3 separate regions of the Homo sapiens genome follow, and regions 1 and 2 are each linked to region 3. The links are contacts of gene promoters, found by promoter capture Hi-C in human tissues and cell types (Jung and others, 2019). All regions are on one chromosome and are shown on one strand. The core of a region is centred on a gene start or on the middle of the fragment in contact, and the rest is flanking DNA. Distances in the headings are between cores, read along the strand shown.

Evidence for each region. Contacts are between HindIII fragments. The study calls those that stand out against the background at their distance.
Region 1: a contact is called between a fragment that was not itself captured here and the fragment with the promoter of ZFPM2 in region 3, in 1 of the 25 tissues and cell types used here (heart left ventricle).
Region 2: a contact is called between a fragment that was not itself captured here and the fragment with the promoter of ZFPM2 in region 3, in 1 of the 25 tissues and cell types used here (dorsolateral prefrontal cortex).

Annotation. Positions count from the first base shown.
Region 1 is chr8:104,803,484-104,806,690 of GRCh38, reverse strand. No RefSeq gene overlaps it. Among named protein-coding and RNA genes, the nearest start is that of LRP12, 220 kb to the right of the region's middle. The HindIII fragment of the contact is 4,200 bases long and covers 1-3,207 here.
Region 2 is chr8:104,582,977-104,585,989 of GRCh38, reverse strand. All of the region lies in intron 1 of LRP12 (LDL receptor related protein 12), which reads left to right. Among named protein-coding and RNA genes, the nearest start is that of LRP12, 4.8 kb to the left of the region's middle. The HindIII fragment of the contact is 3,889 bases long and covers 1-3,013 here.
Region 3 is chr8:105,317,067-105,319,957 of GRCh38, reverse strand. It overlaps ZFPM2 (zinc finger protein, FOG family member 2), which reads right to left and starts at 1,520. Exons shown (of 8, transcript NM_012082.4): 1 at 977-1,520. The coding sequence starts at 1,016. The HindIII fragment of the contact is 7,749 bases long and covers 1-2,891 here.

The DNA.
Region 1 (3,207 bases), core at 554-3,053, 510 kb after region 3:
GAAAAGGTCATTTTTAACATCCTTCTTGTAACTGATAATACAGGTAATAGTCCCCTCACCCCTAACTTACTCCCATGAACCACTGAAAAATCGGAATTGGTTTGAAATTCAGAAAGGGCAATAGAAACTTGATCTTCAAATTGGCCTTCAGAATCTGAGTGAATCCTACTTTCAGATTTCATCAAAGTCCTCCTCAAGACTCCTTGCTGATAAAAAGTAATATAATCACAGCTAAGGTTTTCTGTCACCAAAATTTAAAGAAGCACTTTCTCCTTATTATCTCTCTCCCCTTCTCTTGGACAGAATATTTACCTGTTATGTGATGCAAATGGCCATTTCCTAAAGCATATGGTTTTCTTTCACTTTCTATTTCATTGGCTTTCTAAAAGTATCTCTTTTAAAAGATACATTCTTGACTGGGCGTGGTGGCTCATGCCCATAATGGCAACACTTTGCGAGGCTGAGGTGGGCGGATTGCTTGAGCCCAGGAGTTTGAGACCAACCTGGGCAACATGGTGAAACCCTGTCTGTACAAAGAATACAAAAATTAGCTAGGCATGGTGGCGTGTGCCTGTAGTCTCAGCTACTCCAGAGGCTAAGGTGGGAGGATTGCTTGAGCCCAGGAGACAGAGGTTGCAATGAGCTGTGATCATGTCTCCACACTCCAGCCTGGGAGACAGAGCAAGACCCTGTCTCAATAAAATAATTAAAAATAAATAAAATATATGGTCTTGTGTTCAAATGCAGGGGCATGACTGGATGACCCACCATTCTCCTCATCCCTTCTGGGCTAGGTATTCTCTGTCCTTCCAGATCCTCTCTTTACCCTTCTCTGCCCTGCTCTGTGCCCCAGGACCCTGGCAGCTGTGGACCACATCAACAGGCCTCCCCTTCTCTCTGGCTTCCGCAGGGGTTTGACCATTGGGAGCCTCTGGGGTGAGATCAGAGGAGAGAGAGTTTGGGTGCTGCCTGGCCTGGCTGCTGTTCTGTGGAGCTGTGGGTGCCAGTGGCTGTCATCCTGTGGAAAAACCACAGCTCCTATCCTATAGACAGGTCTTGCCTGGTTCTACTCACAGCTGTCTCCTCTTGCTCCTTCATCCCTAGAAGTGGGAGAAGCTTCTGATGGTTTCTAACCCCAGGGTGTTTCCTCATCCATTTAACTTCCTTTGTCCCGCTCCCCCCCACCCCATACCTTTGAAAATGGTCCCTTCCTTAAACTCTTTTTAATCACCTCCTCAGTGTACCATCTGCTTCTTGCCAGGACCCCGAATGATATAGCCTCTTCTATTTATTTCATAGTTTCTCAACACTTTCAGGATATGCTGATGAGTCAACATCAGAGAGGAGATACAACTGTTTCCTGGATCTCCTAGAAGGCTTGCAAAGCAAGCAGTTAGAACTGAGGGTTAAAATGGAACCTGCAGATTATCTGAGGGTTTCAATTATCTTTGTTACCCTCATTCTATCTTGCATAGAGAATTGAGAATTGGCTGTGTCAAGACTAAGTTGACACACATCAAGAGGCTATAGAGCAGTCTATCTGCTCATTAAGAGTTTTTTACTACGTCCCACTGATCTTCCACTTCTCGCAATGCTTTTGATGTGGGTTTAATTCTAAGTTCTGACAGAGAAAGGGTCTCACATCTGCAGTCCCCAATGCAATCTTCACATGACTGTCAAAAATGCGACTATTTGTCCCCAGGCTTAAAATGCCAGCTCCAAAAAAGGTCAAGGACTCTCCCTGGGAACATCTACAACATTCAAGCATATACTTAAGATCTTCATTTTTATCTCACACTTTTCTTCAATCTAATGTCAATTTGGATATCATATTTCCATAGGCCCAATATATGCTGAGCACATTCTAAAAACAGAGAATAATAACTCAGTTCTTATTTCCTTTCTAAGACCACAAATCTACCTGCTGTGCTATAGAAACACTGATAGGCCAGATTTAAACCGAAGAAGTGTAATGAACCATTCACCTTAAGGAAAGTCACTTTTCTTTAATAATTTCTACATATAACTCTTAGAAGTATTTATTTCCATCCTTAATAGTCTATGATTTAAGGAGAAAGATGAAATAAAGTCTTTAACAAGTAATAAATAGCAAGTCTTTCCTCATTAATTATCAAGGAAATAAAAATGTTTTCCTCATGCAGCATACTTGCTCCACATGTAGCATCAATTTGCTTTTTTTTTTTTAACTTTTGGTCAAAAATATATGTCAATAATGTCTTTCATACTACATATCTTCTCATAAGTAATACAGTTCTCAATTTTCAATTGCTACAAGAATTAGAGTCTTCTCAAAATTCAGAATTTTTCTAAGCATCACTGTAATAATTAGCATTACTATCACTAATTAGTTTTTCCTAACAACAGTTCTTGAAATGGGTAACTATTTTGTATGCCCCAGAGAGGGCTGGTAACTTGGCCAAATTGTATTTTGCAATTTCACTAGAAGTTCTGAAATTTTGGTTGTCATACATATGTGCAATCCATAATTTATTTTCATCCTCTCCTTCTCATTTAAACTGTTAAGTTTGGGGTTAAAGCAAATTGTGTAATTTACTTGGCCCTAAAATGAGCTGGAATTGCACAGGACCAGCTTTTTAAATGTAGGCTTTTGGAGTCACCAAATATGGCTCAATTTCTAGTGATGCAACTAGCTATGCAACTAGTCATGCAACTAGTGTTGGTTTATAGTTACATTGTAAGGTAATTGTAAATGTACCTATTAATAAGAACACATTCATATCTTCAGAGACATAACCTTTGTGTAAAATGTATTCACATGTTCTATGCAAATGATGACTGCTATGGCTGTTATTATTTTTATGACTATTCCTTAGAAATTTTATATACAATTAACCACATCCAAGTGGGCTGATGCTCTTAAATTACATTGCCAGGTGATTAAATTTTCACTCCAAATGTGTGGAAAGGAAAAGAGCCTCACGATTCTTTTTTCTATTAAAAGATAAACTACTTAAATATTTTGTAGAAGAGGTTTGCAAAAAAAAAAAAAAAAAAAAAGAACCAAGAAGCTACAGCATTATGTAGGGCAGTGACCAGAGAATTTGGTTATAGCCCCAGCTTTGTCAATTAATAGCCTTTTAACCTTGAGCAAATCAATAAAAGCTTTTTGGACTCAGTTTCCTCCTCTGTTAAAAGAAGTTGAACTTAAATGGGCTCTGGGTTCAC
Region 2 (3,013 bases), core at 181-2,680, 730 kb after region 3:
CCTAGGCTTACTGTAAGAGGAAAAAGTGCTTTGTCATTTTTCACATAGGGATGTCTCGCTTTTACAAATCTATGGGAGTTTCCAAAACCTCTGTCTCCTAGTCAATAGAAGCTGTTAGTCTTGCTCACCTCCTAAACCACAATTTGGTAATTCTGACAGTTCCGTTGCTTTATCCTTTCCACTTCTGTTTGTCTCCCAGATTAGTGTTTCCTAACTTTTACTCAAACCCACCCTTAAAATACACATTGCTTCGGGTACTATGTACATAGAGAAAAAAGTTAATGAAATCGTACTCTTAACTACCTGTGCACTCAGATGTTTTCTATTTATTCCTCCTCTTTCTCACCCTTCCCTTCTTCATTTGCTGGTCTGGACTCATTAAATAAATTTTGGATCCACTAATAAATTGCAGTCCTTAGCTTGAAAAACACTACCCAAGATGAAGCCTTAAAATATAGTTTAGAGGCCAGGCGTGGTGACTCAAGCCTGTAATCCCAGCACTTTGGGAGGCTGAGGCGGGTGAGTCTCCTGAAGTCAGGAGTTTGAGACCAGCCTGGCCAACATGGCGAAACCCCGTCTCTATTAAAAATACAAAAATTAGCCAGGTGTGCTGGTACATGCCTGTAATCCCAGCTACTCAGGAGGCTGAGGCAGGAGAATCACTTGAACCAGGAAGGTGGAGGTTACAGTGAGCCAAGATTGCACGATTGTATTCTAGCCTGGGTGACGAGTGAAACTCTGTCTCAAAAAATAAATAAATAAATAAATGTAATTTAGAATGTTTCTTGTTTGTATATCATTTTACAATAAACTTCAAGAGTTGCAGATGGTTAATTTTTGGTTACTTGCTGCCAGAGCATTTGATAGTCGTAGAACTGTTCACAGCATATACTGATTGACTTGTGATAAAATTCATTTTTAAACTGGTTTTCAGCTTATTACAGTCAAGAGTCTTTACTGTTCACAGTAGTATTCTAGATGTTGTGGTAGCCTAAAATAATCTTTTTACTTTGCATATATGTAATGGATGAATCTTTTCCCATGAATTTTATGGAATGTTCAGTAGCACTTAATAACTGGTTTAAGGGTAGACAAGAAATTCCAATTTTAGAAAGGTTGTAGAAGTAACTGGAACATGAGGGAAAAATCTAAACCAGATACCAATTACTTCTTACAAAGTCAAGTTTGATTACATAAAATGTGTTGAATAAAATTGAATTAATTGCTTAACATAAACCCTTCCTTGAGTTCAGAATCTAAATTATATCCATATCCTTGGGAGAATATGAAGGTGGGCAGCACATTCCACAAAATTCTAGGTGGTTATCAGGGCAGAAAGTATTAAACAAGCACTGTTAACTGTATTCTAGATAGAGTATGGAGGAGATTTGAATGATGTATGGTAAATGATTTATAAGGTTCCTAGAAAGTAAAATTTCTTTTGAAGAACATAAAAGGGATTTTAGCCTGAAAAGTGAGCAGCAGTTAAAGAAAATGTTGAGATTTACTTTTGTAATTAGAAAATTTAAAGCTTATTAAAATATTAAGGGAACAAGAGGGCCTTTTTGTGTTTCTGATATGAGATGTTGTTCCTTTTTTTTTTCCCCACTTTACCAGTGATACCACAATTTAAGGGGTGAAAGTTCAGTAAAAATATATATGAAATATAAGTGAGAATTATATAGATTTAAGTAAACATAGAATATTTTTATTTTAGATATTAATCCTGTTCTTACTGCAAGTCTTTATAAGAAGAGGAAGGTTGTTCTAAATTTAGGAATTGGAAGTTGATGATCTCTAATTTCTAAGGTTACCTTTCTTTTCTGTTTTTCTTCTTTTCTCCTTATCACTCCCTGCTTTTTGAGAGAGTTAAGTAATAGATGTACATTATTTATTCCCATTTTCTAAAATTTAGGATTAGATCCTGCAAATACAAATTACCAATGTATCTATTCAAATACATGTTATCAGAGTCTCTTCTTTTTAAGTATATATAAATATATTATTTCAATACTGTATTAGCTTAGGGAATTCTTACTGTCTAAGTTATAGAAGGGAAGGAAGGAAACTAACATTAAATTAAGTTTAATAGCACTTATTTACTTACAAGTACTTAATACTTACATTGAAAGATGCGTGATTAGTCTTTATTTATTGCCAATTAATCTTTAGTAGGTCTTATTTGGCAATCCTGTCAGATATGTACTCTTTCTTTTGTTTTATGGAAGAGAACATTGAAACACAGAAATATTGTGACTTAACTGAAGTCAAACCAGTATGAAGTAGTAGAGTCAGGATTGTAGCCTAACCCTGGCTGTCTCTTCACTTAGTTCATTTAGCAAATATTTATTGAGCCCTTGCTTATGTCTAGCACTGTGTTAGATAAAACCTGATGCACATAGTTTCTGCCCTCATGGAGCTTATAGTCTAATGAATAAGTTGTAATAAGTGCTCTCAAAGAAACAGACATGGGGCAGAGATAGTGAGTAACAGGCACAGAGTAATTAGGGGAAGACTTTTTCATGAAGGGACGTTTATGAGACCTAAAGCATAGCTAACTGTGTTATGGTTGGGTAAGAAAGCTTTACATATGAGAACAATGCATGAAAGGCCCAGGATCAGGAAAGAGCTGGTATGTTGCAGATAAATTACTAAAAACACTGTAACTGGAACATAATGGTTGTAAGGGAGAGTGACAGGATGAGATTAGAGCAATACTTAGAAACTCTAGGATTTAGAATCCATGGTAAAGAGTTTGGGTTTTATTTTAACTATTTAAGTGACATAATGTGATTTATGTTTTGAAACAGTCACATTTGCTACTATGTGGAGTATTGTTGTGAAGTGGGAAACAGTAGAGATGGGATGATCAGTTAGGAGATTTTGGCTGTAATCCAGGTGAGAGATAACAGGAGCTTGGACCAAGGTAGTAGTAGTGGAGATAAAGGAGTGTAGGTTGCCCTGTTGATAGAGATAAGGGGATTTTTCCTCTTGCCGTAAGAGGTAAAGAAGA
Region 3 (2,891 bases), core at 271-2,770:
GAAGATATGTCGCAGGCCTATAAAACGCTATTGGAGGAATTCTCCCCAAGCCAAGAAAAGTTGACCGACTTGATCTCTGCGAGCGTGCCTGTTTCGGAAGGTGTCTCTTGACCCGCCGTGTCCTCTAAGCACCATCGGGACCCCCGGGCACCCGGGGGCTCAGGGCCATGCACTCCCCTGCGCGCCCACCGCCTTGAACTCACAGCTTCCGCGCTGGGAAGTGACTGGCGGCCCCTCCCAGGGAGGACTCCGCGCGCCACCAGGGCCAGACACCACCCGAATCCCCGCTCGGCTGAGCGTCCTGGCGGCGTGAGCCGGACCCGCCCGAAGTCCCAGGACACGACCTGCCAGCCACCAGCCCGCGCCCGCAGGGCAGAGACGCACGGCCGCCCGCCGCAGAGGCGCGAACTTTTACACCTACTTTTTGTTTCGCTTCGGGTTTGGTGTGGCTCTGGCACCGCCCAGGATCGGGACCCTGACGCTCTGATTTTCCACCGCGTGGGGAAGTTACCTCCCTCGCCCCGAGGTCTCGACCGCCCAGCTTTTCTGAGAAGTTTCTACCCTGGTTACTAAAAGTGGTTCCCAAGAGTAGTCCCACGTCAATCGCACAAAGCAATGACAACAACAATAATAAGCGTCTAAAGGAGCGGGACTGCCCCTCCGGCTGGACGACAGCGCCGGGGACTCGCAGCGTGCGCGGGTCGGAATTAAAAAAGCAGCCCGGGAGCGCGAGGGCTGAGCGGGGCAAGCATGGGCTGCTCCTCGCAGCCTCTCTCCTGCCCGAGGCTCGGGCTGGCCGTCTGTCTGTCTATGACTGTCTAGTTGTCCCTTCGACTGCTCAGGCAAAGTTTGAGACATCTAGGGGACCGGGAGCGGATCTCCCCTAGCCCCGCCACCCACCCACCGCTTTCCCGTCCCGCGCACCCCGCTCCTGGGCAATAATCCCACCAACTCCCGGCCCCGCGCGCAAACTTACGTTTGATCTGCCGGGGTTTGCTTTGCTTTCGCCGGGACATCTCGGCGGCGGCTGCTGCCGCTGGGGCTCCCGCGGTGCCCGCGGTCGCGGCTGCCGCTCCCTCGGCTCCCGCCGCCGCCGCCGCCGCCGCCGCCGCTGGCCAGGCTCGGCCCGCCGCCGGCCGGACTCCAGGTGCTCCGGGCGCTGGGCTCCTCCGGGAGCCGCGGATTCACGTTCGGAGATGAGCAAGCAAATGAGAGAAGAGAGACGGGGGCACAGAGAGTGTGACAGTGAGGAGGGGAGGGGGAGAGGAGAGCGACGGGGGGAGAATGGGAATGTACAAGCGAACGGTCAGGGAGAGAGAAAAGGGGAAAGAGAAGAGAAAAATAACACGGAAAGAAGGAAGAGAAGGAGGGAGGGACGGGAGAGCGAGCAGCGAGGAGAGGGGGAGCGCGGGGGCGCAGGGCGCGGGAGGAGGAGCGCGCTCGCTCGCCCCTCGCCCCGGCGTGCGGGACGGATACTCCGGCGCCGCCGCCGCCGCTCCGGGCCGCGCAGCTCCTGTTCTGCGGCGGGAGGCGGCGAGGCGCGCGAGGGAGGGGCGCGCCGGGGCTGTGGGGAGGGGAGACTATTCCATCAGCCAAAGGAGGATTGGCTGCATCCAAATCCAGTCCGGATGCAAACTACGGCCCCGGCCTTGGTCGGGCGAAGTGCGGGGGATCCAGGCGGTGGTGGGGGATGGGGGCAGGGGTGGGTGGGAGTTGGAGGGGAGGCGTGGGGACGGCTTGGAGGAGGGCCACCTTCTGCAGTTGTCACCGCGTCAACGCTGGGCAGCTGCCAGGGCACCCCGCCCCACCTCCTTCCAGGCAACTTCTTCCAACGGCCCTCTCTGAGGGACCCCAACTCTCCTCTCTCACGCCTCGCCAGTCCAGCGGGGCACAAAGAAATCTCAGTCTCTCCCTAAACTTTGTGCTTTCAGTTATGCCGCCCCCTCCCCTCACCCCCAACCCCCGCCCTCCCAGCTTCTTGGCAGGAAGGTTAGGCCACTGGCAAAGTCCTCGGCGAGAGCCAGATGATCACAAATGCCAACTGTGTGTCTTGGGGCCAGTTAAGTCCGCTCATCTGCCCAGGCTCTCAGAAGACCATTTCTTTGCTCTCAAGGCTCCCAGGAGACCGCTGCGGACACGGACCGTCCCGCTCTGGGCCCACGTGGATGAGGTGCTGAGTCGGATCCTCAACGTGTTCTGTCACCCACAGTTTCCATTTTAAATTGTAAAATATTCAAATTTGGAGACAAGCAGATATTTTTCTCATCTTGAAAAGGAGGAGCGAGCGTTAGCTAGCTGATTAGCCGTAAGTGGAAAACGAACCATCTCTAATAAAAATACTAACTTTTTGGGAAAGTCTGGGGAAGTTCTGTAGTCCCACCCTGCCCCGTGACCTTTCTATTCTCTTAGTCTTCTGCCACAGGGAAGCACCGATCGACTAATAAAAGATTTGATCTTGCTGTAATTTCCCAAGCGGGTAAGACCCAGTAACTATTTAATGGTTCTTTAGCTTCTAAAATTTTGTTTTATTCTTATTCAATTACTGTATGTGTAGTATATCGGCAACTGCAAGCCAAAAGGAGAACAAATTTTGAGGTGATTTGCATAGTTATTATTTTGGCCAAGTTAAACTGTATGAGGTTAGCTTATTTTCTTACAGTTTCATATACGGTAAGTATTAAATATATTCTCCCATGTGGGTTGGAAGGAGCTTCTATCCAAGTGCAGTGGGACTAGCTGCTTTATGTAATCAGTATTTACTAATAAACTCCACTGCAGTTCACATGAGTCCCCCAGATACTGCTGACTTTTCCCCCAGGAGGTTGTGAAGTGGACCATTCTGATCTCAAATTGTGTCCCCGTTTGCTTGGTTGACTATTATTTGTGTGAAC